3 separate regions of the Homo sapiens genome follow, and regions 1 and 2 are each linked to region 3. The links are contacts of gene promoters, found by promoter capture Hi-C in human tissues and cell types (Jung and others, 2019). All regions are on one chromosome and are shown on one strand. The core of a region is centred on a gene start or on the middle of the fragment in contact, and the rest is flanking DNA. Distances in the headings are between cores, read along the strand shown. Region 1 has its middle 5.8 kb from the start of MIR4737. Region 2 holds the start of RNFT1 (ring finger protein, transmembrane 1). Region 3 holds the start of YPEL2 (yippee like 2).

What was found. The method cuts DNA at HindIII sites, captures the fragments that hold promoters and counts their contacts. A contact is called where the count stands out against the background at its distance.
Region 1: a fragment that was not itself captured here is called in contact with the fragment with the promoter of YPEL2 in region 3 in 1 of the 25 tissues and cell types used here (hippocampus).
Region 2: the fragment with the promoter of RNFT1 here is called in contact with the fragment with the promoter of YPEL2 in region 3 in 1 of the 25 tissues and cell types used here (heart left ventricle).

The regions. Positions count from the first base shown.
Region 1 is chr17:60,035,047-60,039,538 of GRCh38, forward strand. No RefSeq gene overlaps it. Among named protein-coding and RNA genes, the nearest start is that of MIR4737, 5.8 kb to the right of the region's middle. RefSeq lists an enhancer at 1,975-2,104. The HindIII fragment of the contact is 6,449 bases long and covers 1-4,492 here.
Region 2 is chr17:59,961,522-59,966,081 of GRCh38, forward strand. RNFT1 (ring finger protein, transmembrane 1) reads right to left here and starts at 3,219. Exons shown (of 9, transcript NM_016125.4): 1 at 3,087-3,219; 2 at 1,306-1,763; 3 at 1,019-1,095. The coding sequence starts at 3,142. RNFT1-DT (RNFT1 divergent transcript) reads left to right here and starts at 3,575. Exons shown (of 4, transcript NR_110815.1): 1 at 3,575-3,667. It also overlaps the pseudogene TBC1D3P1-DHX40P1. RefSeq lists a silencer at 3,160-3,289 and an enhancer at 3,320-3,589. The HindIII fragment of the contact is 23,560 bases long and covers 1-4,560 here.
Region 3 is chr17:59,329,594-59,334,052 of GRCh38, forward strand. It overlaps YPEL2 (yippee like 2), which reads left to right and starts at 2,062. Exons shown (of 5, transcript NM_001005404.4): 1 at 2,062-2,231. RefSeq lists a silencer at 1,828-2,347 and an enhancer at 2,558-3,119. The HindIII fragment of the contact is 13,001 bases long and covers 1-3,526 here.

The sequences.
Region 1 (4,492 bases), core at 1,872-4,371, 710 kb after region 3:
TGGTGAGAAACATTGTGTGCGTGCATGTGTGTATGTGTGAGAGATCGAGAGAGAGAGAGAGAGAGTGAGAGAGAGATTATTATTTTAATAAAAAGACTGTTTGTGAGTATACCGCTCCATGAGTTTTGTAACCCCACCCCAATCAGGATTCCAAACAGTGAGAGATTATCATTTTAATAAAAAGGCTATTTGGGGGTATACTGCCCTATGAGTTTTGTTGCCCCACCCCAATCAAGGTTCCGAACAGTTTGATCACTCCCACAAATCTGCTTCATGCTCCCTGTCGTGGCATCCTTGCCTCACCCCAATCCCTGGCCACCAACCGATGTTTTTTGTCCCTGTAGCTTTGCCTTTTCCATAATGTCATGTGTTCATACAATATGTAACCTTTTGAGAGTGGCTTCTTTAACTTACCAAAACTTCCTTCCTTCTGCTTGTTTTAGGTTTATTTTGCCCTTTTTTTTCTTTAGTTTATTAAAGCTGAGGTTTAGATTGTTGACTCGAGCCTTCCTTCTTTTCTAAAATAAGCATCAAATGCTATAAATTTCCATCTGAGCTCTTCTTTAGCTGCATCTACACATTTTGATTTATTGTATTTTTGTTTTTGTTCAGTTTTAAGTATTTTCTAATATCCTCATTTCCTTTGAGACTACCTCCTTTGACCCATGGATTACTTAGAAGTATATTATTTAATTTCCAACTATTTAGAGATTTTTGTCAGTTATCGATCTCTGGTTTAATTCCATTATGCTCAGAGACCTTGCTTTGTATTATTTCTGTTCTTTTAAATTTGTTAAGGTTTGTTTTATGGGCTTGGAGTGGTGGCTCATGCCTGTAATCCCAGCACTTTTGGGAGGCCAAGGCGGATGGATCATTTAAGGTCAGGAGTTCGAGACCAGCCTGGGGAACATGGCGAAACCCCATCTCTACCAAAAATACAAAAATTACTCAGGTGTGGTGGCACAAGCGTGTGGTCCCAGCTACTCGGGAGGCTGAAGTGGGAGGATCGTTTGAGCCCGTGAAGTTGGGCTGCAGTGAGCTGAGATTGCTCTACTGTACTCCAGCCTGAGCAGCAGAGCAAGACCTTGTCTAAAAAAGAAAAAAAATTGTTGTTTTATGATCCAGAATGTGATCTATTTGTTCTAGGGATTACTGAGAAAGGCAGGTTGGGGTGTCCAACTGTAATTGCTGATTTGCCATTTCTCTTTTCAGTTCTGTCAGGTTTTGCCTCATGGATTTTGAAGCTCTGTTGTTAGGTACATAGATGCTTAGGATTGTTAATGTTTTCTTTGAAAATTGACCTTGTTATCATTATGTAATGTCCCTCTGTATCCTTGGTAAATTTCCTTGCTCTGAAGTCTGTTTTGTCTGATGGTATGTAATTACTCCAGATTTCTTTTGATTAGTATTTGTATGATATATCTTTCTTTTTTGTCCTTTCATTTTTAATCTATACTATTTACTTAAAATGAGTTTCTTAGACACATATAGTTGAGTGTTGGGTTTTTTGTTTGTTAGTTTTTTACATTCAACAATCTATCTTTTTATTAGCATATTTCAACTTTTTAAATTTAATATAATCGTTGGTATGTTTGGATTTACATTTAATATTTTATTGTGTTTTCTATTTGTTCTCTATTTTTCCCTGTGTTTTTCATTCCTGTTTTGACTTTTCCTGCCTTCCTTTGGATTATTTGAATTTTTTGGAATTCCATTTTAATTCACTGATTTTTTTAACCATATCTTTTTGTGTAAGTTGAAAATGTAGTTGCTTTAGGGATTACAAAACACCTAGGTTTTCATAGTCTATTTAGGTTATATATTTAGTGCTTCACGTGAAATGTAGAAACCAGCCTGACCAACATGGAGAAACCCGGTCGCTACTAAAAATACAAAATTAGCCGGGTGTGGTGGCACGCACCTGTAATCCCAGCTACTCGGGAGGCTGAGGTGGGAAGATTCCCTTGAGCCCAGGAGTGTCTTCAGGAAATTAAGGTTCTCTCTGTTCTCTACAGGTCAAGTAGTTATGGACGGTATCCTGAACATTCTAATTTTGTGTTATGAGAATCTGGGCCATGTTGGAATCCTGTGTTTTTGCTTTGGCAGGCAATCGTCCTGGTTAGGTTCAGTCACAAGTTCCCACCTGCCTCCTGCGGGTTGTGGTTCAATATCAATTAAGCTTCAGAGCCTTTGCCGCGCTGTTCAGATCCGCCCCGTGTGTGCGCCACCCAGTGGCGGGTACGAGACTGGACAGTGCCTTGTCCCACCGTTCAGTTCTCAAAGCCTTTGTTCAGATCCACACATGGAATGCCTGGGCATGAGCCCAGGAGTTCACATACAACTTTAGGGTATTGCCTTCTTGCGTTCCCTCCTCTCTGAAATCTCAACACTTTACAGTCTCAGGGGTCCCTCTTTCCGGTCCTCTGGCTAGAAAGTCAGGGTTTTAACTGTACTGCTCTGCCCTACAGTTTCTGTGACTGTCTGCCTCCACGGCCAAGCATGGAAGGTTGTGTAAAGAGAAAAAAGCCATGGGCATGACTCCCTTGCTGTTGGGACCATTCTTCCTCTGGCAGAGAGATGAGTTTCCTTCCCTTGAAGTTCTAGGCACCTGCCTGGCTGCCACTGCTGCAGTGAGATTGCCTAGGGGCTGGTGTGGGGAGAAAAGAGACAGCAAACACAGGATTTCCCCGCTTTTGCTGACCTATAGGGGTGCTTACCTCTCTCCTAAGGTCAGAAACAGAGGCTCAGAGCTCTTTCTATCTGCATCTGGTATGCAATTCCAGGTTTTGGTTCATCTTTGAGTCCAGGCCAGGAGACCCCAGAGGGGGAATAAAATGGCAGACTTACTGCCACTTTGGTGGTGTTTAGAGTTCTCTTTTCCTTCCCTGATCTTCCTGCTACCACCTTGTTTTCAGAGCTAGCTGCTCCATGCCTGTGGTCCAGGATTCATAGTAACATTCAGTGGGAAAGACAGGACGGAGTATGACTGGAATGAGAATGGGAGAAGAATTTTTATTTAAAAAACAAAAGCATGGATTTTTAAAGGTTGAAAAATGCACACTAATTGGGGGAGAAATTTCTCTTTCCCTCCACAGTGTGGTAGCTGTAAGCCTGATTCCTGGCTTGAATTTTTTTATTCACTTTTCCAGATGACCTTTAGAATCATTTTGTCCTTAAATTAGCCAGGTGTGGTGGCACACACCTGTAATCCCAGCTACTTGGGAGGCTGAGGCACAAGAATTGCTTGAACCCATGAGCAGAAGTTGCAGTGAGCCAAGATAATATGACTGCACTCCAGCCTGGGTGACAGAGTGAGATTCTGTCTCGAAAAAAAACATCATTTTGTCCTTTAAAAAATTCTAATTTTGATGGGAATTTTATGAAATGTATAGATTTGGAGGAAAGTAGCCTTTTAATAGATTGAGTCCTTCAGTCTAGTAATGATATATCTTCTCATTTAAAAAAATCTTCTTTTATGACCACTGGTAAAAGTTTTTATTTTTTTTCCTCAGAATCCTTGCATAAGCTTGGTTAAATTTATTCTCAGGTATTTTTATTATTAAAATTTTTATTAAAAATCAAATTGGTTATTGCTGATATATAGAAGAGCTACTGATTTGGCATGTTTACTTTGTAACCAGCTGCCTTACAGAACTTTTATTGGTTTTTTTACTTTCTGAATATTGGTTTAATTACTTTCTGAATTTTGGTTTTATTACTTTCTTGGTTTTCTGCACACAAGGATTTGTGAATCCAATCACTCAGACTGGTTTTCTGCAAATAATGATAATTTGGAACCTCTTTTTGAAAAAAAACTTTGAAAATTTTGATTTTTGGTTTATTGAATCACATTGGCCATTAAAATTTCTTGTACAGTATTAGGTAATATTGGTGATATCATTCTTGCTTGTCTTGGTTCTGAGTTTTAGGGAAGTCCCTATTAAGATAGGTATATTTCATTATGCTAATGAATTATCTTTTTGAATTCTTTTTTAAAAATAATTTTGATCAGAAAAGGATACTGCATTTCGTCACTCTTCCAGCATCCATAAAGATGACCATTTGTATTTTCTTATTTGACCCACTAATGTGATTGCATTTTATTAATAGGACTTTCCTGCATTCCTACAGCAAATCCTGGTTGGTCATGGTGGAGACTGTAAAGCAATCATTCTCAAGGAGGGGCTTTTTCACGCAGTATGCCTGGAGAGAGGCTGCACCACCACCGCGTTCCTCCCCGATGAGTCCAGTGAGCCACGGCTGCGGGCTACGGTGTTGTGGTGCTCGGGTGTGTTGGAAGGAAATGGTAATTGAATGAGTGCTCATTTTCCAAGACTTTGGCCCCACCCCTAATATAATGTCCATGTTCCTGGAGCTGAGGATGCCTTCAGCCTAGGCTTGAGGACTCAAGGTGTGTACTAGAACCAGACAGACATTCTCCAATATCCCACTCTAGGGATCTTACTCCAATGAGAAGCAGAGAAATGCTAGC
Region 2 (4,560 bases), core at 1,969-4,468, 630 kb after region 3:
ATTTATATGACGGGCTCGTGTAACTTATGTTATGGAAAAATTCCTTGGGTTTCATTTTCTCTCTTTTTTTTTTTGAGATGGAGTCTCACTCTGTCGCCAGGCTGGAGTGCAGTGGCACAATCTTGGCTCACTGCAACCTCTGCCTCCCGGGTTCAAGCAATTCTCCTGCCTCAGCCTCCCAAGTAGCTGGGACTACAGGCAAGCGCCACCACGCCCAGCTAATTTTTGTGTTTTTAGTAGACATGGGGTTTCACCACATTGGCCAGGCTGGTCTCAAACTTCTGACCTCAGGTGATCTGCCTGCCTGGGCCTCCCAGAGTGTTGGGATGACAGGCGTGAGCCCCTGTGCCTGGCCCAGGTCTTTTTTTTTTTTTTTTTTTTTGAGATGGAGTCTCGTTCTGTAGCCCACGCTGGAGTGCAGTGGTGCGATCTCAGCTCACTGCAACCTCCACCTCCCAGGTTCAAGTGATTCTCCTGCCTCAGCCTCCCGAGTAGCTGGGAATACAGGCACATGCCACCACACCTAGCTAATTTTTTGTATTTTTAGTAGAGACAGGGTTTCACCGTGTTAGCCAGGATGGTCTCAATCTCCTGACCTCATGATCTGCCCGCCTCGGCCTCCCAAAGTGCTGGGATTACAGGTGTGAGCCACCATGCCCAGCCACTAAAAGTTTTTCATGATGATGGTCTTACTTACTATGGTCAAAGTAACTGATACAACATGAAGGGACTTGCCAAATCAGATCAGATACCGTGTTCTAACTCTTTTAATCCTTTTTACTACTTTAACAGTAACCAATTTTTTTTTCTTACAAAGAAGGTAAGGTGAAGGAATTCAGCATTAGGAGAGATAATTTATTCCAGGATTTAGATAACAAATTTAACATAACGTGGATGTTACAATATATCCTATTACTTCCTATTTCTTTCAAGTTATTTCCTATTTCTCTCAAAATTATTTCTCTAAAATCTATGGAGAGAAACAGTTAATAATTTTTTAGTTGCTTGTTATACTTACTCTTAGAAAAACCTGATTTACAATGCTTTTGTTTGCATACATAAAAGTTGTTAGCAGCCCAATTCCAAGAGAAATTCCTGTTAGAAAATAAGTTCCAGTTAATTGAAAGAAAAAAAAATCAAAGAGGATTATATAAGCTAACAATGACACAAATTAAAAATAAACATATACAATAATAAAAGCTCACAGAAAATAAGTAACTGGATGCATTAAGTAGATTACCAATAATGAAAGAAAATTAACTGAATTTAGGAATGAAAACAAGTCAATGTTTTATTATGTCCTACCTGTTATATGCTGCATAACAAGTTTGACGCTCAGAATCAAAATATATGGAAGACTTTTTTGCAGCCACTTGAAGAGATAGCGGAATTCTGAGAAGGAGCTACTACCATGATCTCCAGATTCTGCGGCAGTATCATCAGTCAGCCTTGCTTCACTGTGGGAGTGACCCCGTAAGCGACTGTGTACACATCCATGGGCACAGCTATGGACACCTGACCTTATATTTCTGGAGCTTGCATTTTCTGCACATTCTTTAGGTATGGAGTTTATCTGGATATGAACATCTCCAGAATGAGGGCAAGAACCCTCTCCTGTCAATCTTGTGTGGACACACTGAGGGGTTGAGGCATCCTCACTGCTTCCAGTTCCTGGAGGACTGTGCAGTTGGCTACGATTGGCTTGCATGGCCCTTAAATACTTTTTCTCTGACCCAGATGTCTTTGCTTCAGGCCTCTGTCTCCTAAAAAATCAAATAAAAGATATTCTAAGTAAACAGGCAGTTAAATACCAGCAGTATATTCCTCACTGGGTATCCTTTATTCACTAAAGGAGTAGCAAATAATCACAACAGATGAATTTTCAGGTTATTTATCACTGGACTCCTCCCTTCTCCCTTAATGCCAAGGCTCTGCTGCCCTACACAAATGATCTTTTAGGGAACATTTGCACCAAAAAAAAAAAAGTTGAGCTGCAAATGCTTCCAGTTCTCTAATGGCAGAAGGCATCCGCAAAACAGTCATGAAGTATGGGTACCCAGCAGATGTTAATGAGCACCAGTCCTCACTGGGTACTCTGGTACATTTACTTTTCCCAAATGGTGCAGTTTCATCTCTGATGTAGATTCTACATCAAAGAAGTTTCATAAGGAAGAGTGAGCCAGTATTTTTTAATGGTTGGAAATGTTAGGAAAAAAAACAACATTAAATCTTAATGCCTTATTATCATCATAGGTAACTAATAATAAACACTGCACTTAGGTGACCTACAAATTAGATTTTCTGCTCAAGCAGCTTTCCCAAAGCTCATAAAGTTTCCAATAATTAATGGTGCCACCAATAATATTACCTCCCCGCGCAAAAGAATGTTACCTAAATACATTTAAAGCATAGATACTTTGGAGAGTCACCACGTAATTGCTAGGTAACTCTTTAGTCTGAATAAGCAGTTACACAGTCCGCCCAATAAAATGCCACCGTCGGTGGTGTGTGTATTACGGAGGGAGGGGTGTGAGGAAAGAGGACTCTAGCAGAGAAAGATCTCTCTAATAAATGATCCAGTGTGGACCTCCTAGAAACAGAAGAACAGAGTCGGAATCCCAGCTGACAAAACGCAGAGGCTATCCCACACTGCCGTGCTTTTCCCGTTTGTCTAGGAGGAGGCTAGAGTTAACGTCAGGGAATGTTCTGTGTCATTCTATTTCACTCCCAGGACTGAACAGTGGTGCAGTCACCGTGTCTGGCGGTTTGGGTTTCAGTGCTTTTCACTAAAGGCTTTCACCGAGGCCCCGACGCCACGGGTGTTATTTCGTCAAAACTGAAGAGCGACGTTGGACAGCAGGCTTTCAGTGTCTTTTCTATAAATAACATAGAACCCTCCCACTTTCCTTCATGCACAGACAAGAAAGAGGAGAAAAAAGGGAAGAAAATTCAACACAACTCTTCCGGAATCTCCGAGGGCAGAGTTCTCCACCCACGTCCGAGCCTCGAGTGCCTATTCTCCCCAGAGCCCCCTGCGCCGCGGCCCCTCGCCGCCTCCTCCTCTGCCCGCTTCCCCCAGGCCTAACCTCTCATGACCAGAAGCGGACGGAGGTGTCGGGAGCGACAGCAAGAACAGCGGCATACACCGCCTCCAGCCCTTCAGTCGGGGCCATCAACCGCAAACCCCGCAAGCTCTTCTCTCAGCCCGGCGGCAACGGCGGCGGCGCGCGCGCTCCCCGGACGTTCTCACGCGCGCGCGCGCGCCCTGCCCCGGCTCCACCTCCTAGCCCCGCCCCCGCACCGCGCCGAGTGGAGAGCTCACGGCTGCCGGGGTGTTTTGGCAGCGAGAACAAGCGAGCTGCGCCTGAGAACGGCCTTCAGGCCTGGCGCTAAATAATAAGTCGTTGTTATGTGTTATGTATTTATGTGGCATCCACCACACGCCTCCGAGATCCTGGGCGTTTTGAGGTTAAAAATGTTCAGGCTTGGAGAACCTACCCCTGGAGGAGTGTTAGGGTTTCCGGGCTCGGATGTCCGCGAGCTTGACGCCTGACCTAGTTGTGTCTGTCTGGGCGGTGACGTTTGGTCTGAGCTGACCTTTCCTCACAATCGTGAATTTGGGCTGTGAGGATCAGGCCTTGTCAGAACCCGAGATGAGAGGAGAGAGGTGCGGAGAGTCTGCGTGGGGTGGAAGTAGAAGTTAGAGTTGAAAAACCTGTCTTGCGTGGGGTATAGAGGACCCTACTGCCCTCAAAATAATTATGTTAATCTAAAACTGTTCTAAAATTAAAAGGTTATTAAGAAAACGAAGTTTAGGTCGGGCGCAGTGGCTCACACCTGTAATCCCAGTATTTTGGGAGGCCGAGGCGGGCGGGTCACTTGAGCTCAGGAGGTAGAGACCAGCCTGGCCAACATGGTGAAACCCGTCTCTATTAAAACTACAAAAATTAGCCGGGGGCGTTGGCTCACACTTGTAATCCCCGCTACAGATACTCGGGAAGCTGAGGCATACGAGAATCACTTGAACCCGGGAGGTGGAGTTTGTAGTGAGCCAAGATCGTGCCACTGCACTCCAGCCTGGGCAACAGAGTGAGTGAGACTCGGTCTCAAAAAATAAATAAATAAAATAAATTCTGTTAATCTAAAACTGTTCTAAAATTAAAAGGTCATTAAGAAAACGAAGCTGAGGAGGGGAGTGGTAGCTCACACCTGTAATCCCAGCACTTTGGGAGGCCAAGGCGGGTGGATCACAAGGTCAAGAGATCGTGGCCACATCCTGGCCAATATGGTGAAACCCCGTCTCTACTAAAAATACAAAAATTAGCCGGGTGTGGTGGTGCGTGCCTGTAATCTCAGCTACTCGGGAAGCTGAGGCAGGAGAATCGCTTGAACCCGGGAGGCGGAGGTTGCAGTGAGCCGGGATTAGCCACTGCACTCCAGCCTGGCAACAGAGCGACACTCCGTCTAAAAAAAAAAAGGTTTAGGCCTGGCGTGGTGGCTCACCCCTGTAATCCCAGCGCTTTGGAAGGCCGAGGCGGGAGGATCACTTGAGGTCAGGAG
Region 3 (4,459 bases), core at 812-3,311:
GCTCAAAATGCTTGGCTCTTTTTGACTGGGAGGAGGCATGATCAGGCTTAACACTTTTTTTGTTATTGGCCGGCTGGCTGGTTTTATTGTCTCCTGACCCTAAGGTCTGGGGCCTCTTCCAGTCCCCTGCATACACACAGCAGGCCTGAAGGGGTCCTCAGAGCTCCCTCTGAAACCACTGTATCAGGCTAGTCTTCTTTAGCTAACGTTATCTTTTATTTAAACAGAAACAGTAGCCACCAGTCTTGTTACATAACATACCAATATCCTAGGGTGTTAAACTAATTCAGCATCTACTGTTAGGAAGTGGTGATGTGGCAACACAAATATTCGCTCACACAATATTGCGGAAACGTTGTAACAAACATGACTTTCTGGCCCTACTTAGAATTTCAGAGCTGGAAGGGACTTGAGATCATCCTATTTCAACCCTCCTTGTTTTAAACTGTGGAAACCTAGGCCTGGAGAGACAAAGAAACTTGCTCAAGAAGCAGATCAGGGCGAGACGGCAAGCTCTTACTAATCTAAAGAATCCATCACATCTTAGATTAAGGATTAAATGCTAAACAGTTCTTGTTTGTGATTCCTCTCATCTGAAAGCATTCCCCCCCCCCCCCCGTTTTAGACTCTCCAAACTAGTCAGTTGTGAACCAGGACATAGCCTTTGTTTACACTGAAACTGCAAATCTGAGGCTGATATGTCAGCCCCACAATACTGAGGTATTTGGGGTGTTTTGTTGTTTTTACTAACCTTGGTGACTGGATTCACATGCAATAGATATTAACTGAATACAATTTGGTTGACCAAGCATATTTTAAAAACAGCTGGGTGGAGATGCAGGTGAGCCAGCATTCTGGGTGTACGTGCAAACCAGTGTGTGGAAGGCGGAGAGTCAGCTGCACCTCCTGCAGCACCTCACATCCTGATGGCTGCACAGTAAAACACTAGTTTCCTTGGAGGAAGAGTTCCCAGAGGAACTGCGGAACCCCAGTGTCTTGAGCGAAAGGCAGGACCTGCTTTGTTCACCTTGTCCGTGCCAACATTCTTTATCAAACTGTCCTGTTTTCCTGCTGGGAAACTGCCCCACTCCACCCACCTGGTGCCTCCCTGGTTTCCTGACTGCCACGAGGTTATTTTTTAACCTGCTCTTCCTTGAAAAGCACCACCCCGGTGACCCAGAACGTGGACTCCTCCCCTCTGGTCACTCGGACCATCCCACTCTAATTACCGTCATCTGCCTCTGAAAGTCATGGAAAATTAGCAGCAATGGGGCGGTCTTCAATTCCACTAAGCCCCTTTCGTACTTTTAATTCGCCGAAATTACTAGCAGGGCAGAGAGAAGAGGGGAAATGCCTGGCTTCTGAGCAAGGCATGGGTGGGCTGGGTGCAACTAGCACTATCATTTTCTTTTAATTTTATTATTATTATACTTTAAGTTTTAGGGTACATGTGCACAATGTGCAGGTTTGTTACATATGTATACATGTGCCATGTTGGTGTGCTGCACCCATTAACTCGTCATTTAGCATTAGGTGTATCTCCTAATGCTATCCCTCCCCCCTCCCCCCTATCATTTTAAATTCAATTACCCGGGGCCTGAGGGCCACTTCTGGTAACTTAGGCTATGGCTTAGGGCGAGGTTTAAAACGTAAGAAAGGAATGACTATCTTGAGCCTCCAGGGAGATGCACTGCAAATCCCCCCGCCCCAAAATACAACCCAGGTTCTGGGAATCCCAGCCCTGCCCTGGGGACAAACCCCAAACTCAAATAAACGGCCTCCTCCTAGGCGCTGAGAGCCCACCCAGCTTTGGCACTCTGGGTCCCTGCCCTCCGGCAAGTTGCCGGGACGGGCGGGACCCTAACCAGCCGCTCTCCCCTAGCCCAGGCTGGGCCGGGCCGAGGGGTGGGGGAGTGGGCGGTCGGGGAAGCGGGGGGCGGAGTTCCGTCCTCTGATGATTGGCTCTGCGCGGATGGGCTGCGGCTGCGCCCGGCCAACCCGCGGCGTGTTGCTATGTGCTGAGCCGAGGGGATAGGTGCGGGGGCGCGTCCATCACGGGGTAGCCCCCGGCCCGGACCCGGAGGGATGCGGAGTGGCGGCCGCGGCGGTGGCGGAGACTGTGGCTTTAAGAGCGTGCCGGGAGCCCGAGCCCCAGCCGGGCCGCGCTTCGCCGCTGCGCACCCCAGCGGAGCCAAGCCCCACGCTGGCCGGACAGGGCCGCCTGTCGCCGGGTAAGTGCACCGGAGTGCGGCGCGGGCCGGGCGCGCGTGGGCGTGGGGCGCGCTGTCAGCTCGGGCTCTGGGTCCCCGGCCCCGGCCTCCGGACTCCCCCGGCCGGGCCTGCGCGGGGTTGGGGGTGCGGCGCCCTCGGTTCCGCGTGGGGTCCCCGTGGGCGCCGGGGACGGGGAGCGGCCGCCGGGCCACGTGACCGGTTTGTTTACAAACACTGCCGGGCCCGCGGCCGCTCGCGGAGGGAGCCCAAGGGCGCGGGACCCCCGGCCGGGGCGGGAGACGCGCGCCAGGGGCTGGGCGAGTCTGCGGGGCCAGGTTTGGGGCGGGGGTGCGGAGCTGGAATCGCCGCTTCCTCCTCCGCGTCGTCCCCATGGGTTCGGACTCCATGGGGTCCGGGTGGGGCTGGGGACGCCCTCCGTCCTCTCGTGACGCCGCGTTTCCCTCGGAGAGTCCTGGGGACACTTAGGTCCAGGGGCGCCGCCCTGGGGGCCTTCCACTGTGGGACTGGGCGCCCTCGAAATTTCTCGGAGCGCGTCGTCTGCCCCGACCCGGGTCGAGGTAACCGCAGCCGAGTTCCTCCCTGGCCGCGTCTCGGCGCCTCCCCGGTGTCCTTGCCAAGGGGGTGGGCGCGAGGTCCTGCCCGACGGAACGCGGGAGCCTCTGCCGCGAGCGCCTCCCCGGAGCTGGCGCTTAGGGGCGGCCCCGACCTTTCGCCACTTCCAGTTCACCCTGCTTGGCCGCCGACCTCCTCTGGTGTCTTTCCCGGAGTGGTGGGCTTTTCTCCGGTCTTGGGGGCGTGCGGGGGTGGGGGACACCTGTTCTTCTGGACTTCTTGTCCGGAAGATTGCTACCTCTGCCTTCAGTCTTAGCTGCGAGAGTTTAAAAAGCCAGGTGAGCGAGTGTCTTGTTTTCCTCCGCTTGGAGCGGAGCTGCACCCTCGCCCGCCCCCCAGTCCCGCCGCTGTGAAAGGCCCCAGAGAACTGCTCCGAAGCTTTGCTGGGGTTTTTGCTTTCTGGCCTCCTTGCTGATTTGCTGTCCTTGCAACTTGGGAGGCTCTTGAGTGAGTCCTTGCCTTTGGTGAATCTGAAGGCTAACGAGACAGCTGTCTTTTCCTCCCTGCCCTTCCTTCCTTGTTCTTCCTTGTTCCAAAGCATTGGGCAAGAAGGGTAGCGGTCAGCTTCCCTGTGCCTCACAGAGCATTAAAGATGCAAGAAGTTCAGTAAACCGCCTCACTGGCTCTGGGGTGGGACTTGATTTCACATGGTTATTGCTCCCCCGTGCTTTCCTGCCTCTGGGGGCCACAGGGCCTATGAATGGCTGAGTCTTGCCTCCGGTGAGGAACATTTTCATTCTTCTAAACTGTGTTTTGAGTGGCTGCAAGTTCTTTTCCCCAGAAACAGGCCCAGCCTGGGGAGAGCTGTGCAGACTTCCCCCTTGGCACCATCCCCTGTCCCCAGCTCCATGATAGGATCTCAGGCAGGAGTGCAGTGGGAGCCTCATCCGCTTCCTCAGTTGGGCTTTGCCGCCGCAGGTTAGCATTCAATGACAGCATTTCTTGGATCTGTCTTGATATTTCTGTGCTTGAACCAAAATCAAGAAGCTTAGAGTTAGGGGTGGAAAATGGAAAATAAACACCATGCGCGAGAAAACTGTTTTCCTTCTTCCCTCTAGGAGCATGGTTTTCAGACTTTGAGTGGGACCTGCACTGCATACAGGTCTGTAACTGAAATAAGTTTCAGAGAACAATAATTACCCTTACTCCCTGCAGTGTGCTCTGTTTTAAAGGTTTTTTTTTCTACTTCATTTAAAAAAATCAACTGCTGGTTATGACCCATTAATTTGATTTCCTGACCAAGCAGGTCCTGACCCATAGTTTGAGAAGCATCGCTTTAAGGCAGAGGTCCTCAAACTTAAATGTGTATAAAGATGACCTGGGTAGTGTTTAAAAATAGTTTGTCAGGCTACTCCGCAGATGTTTATTTTCAGTGGGCCACAGGAATCTGCATTTTTACCAGGGGACCTATGAGATTGTGATGCAGGTGCTTGATAAGAGCCCCTGATCTAGTGGGAACTGGAGGCAGTGAACAATGAAAGGTATTAACTTGGCTCTGAAGTGCAGTCAGGTATGTGACCCCATACTCTGCAATCCCAAAATCACTCAGCTGCCAATCACACTAGCTTAGGCTTTGAAAAGTCTAAGGGCACAGTATTGTTTGTTCTCAACTGCC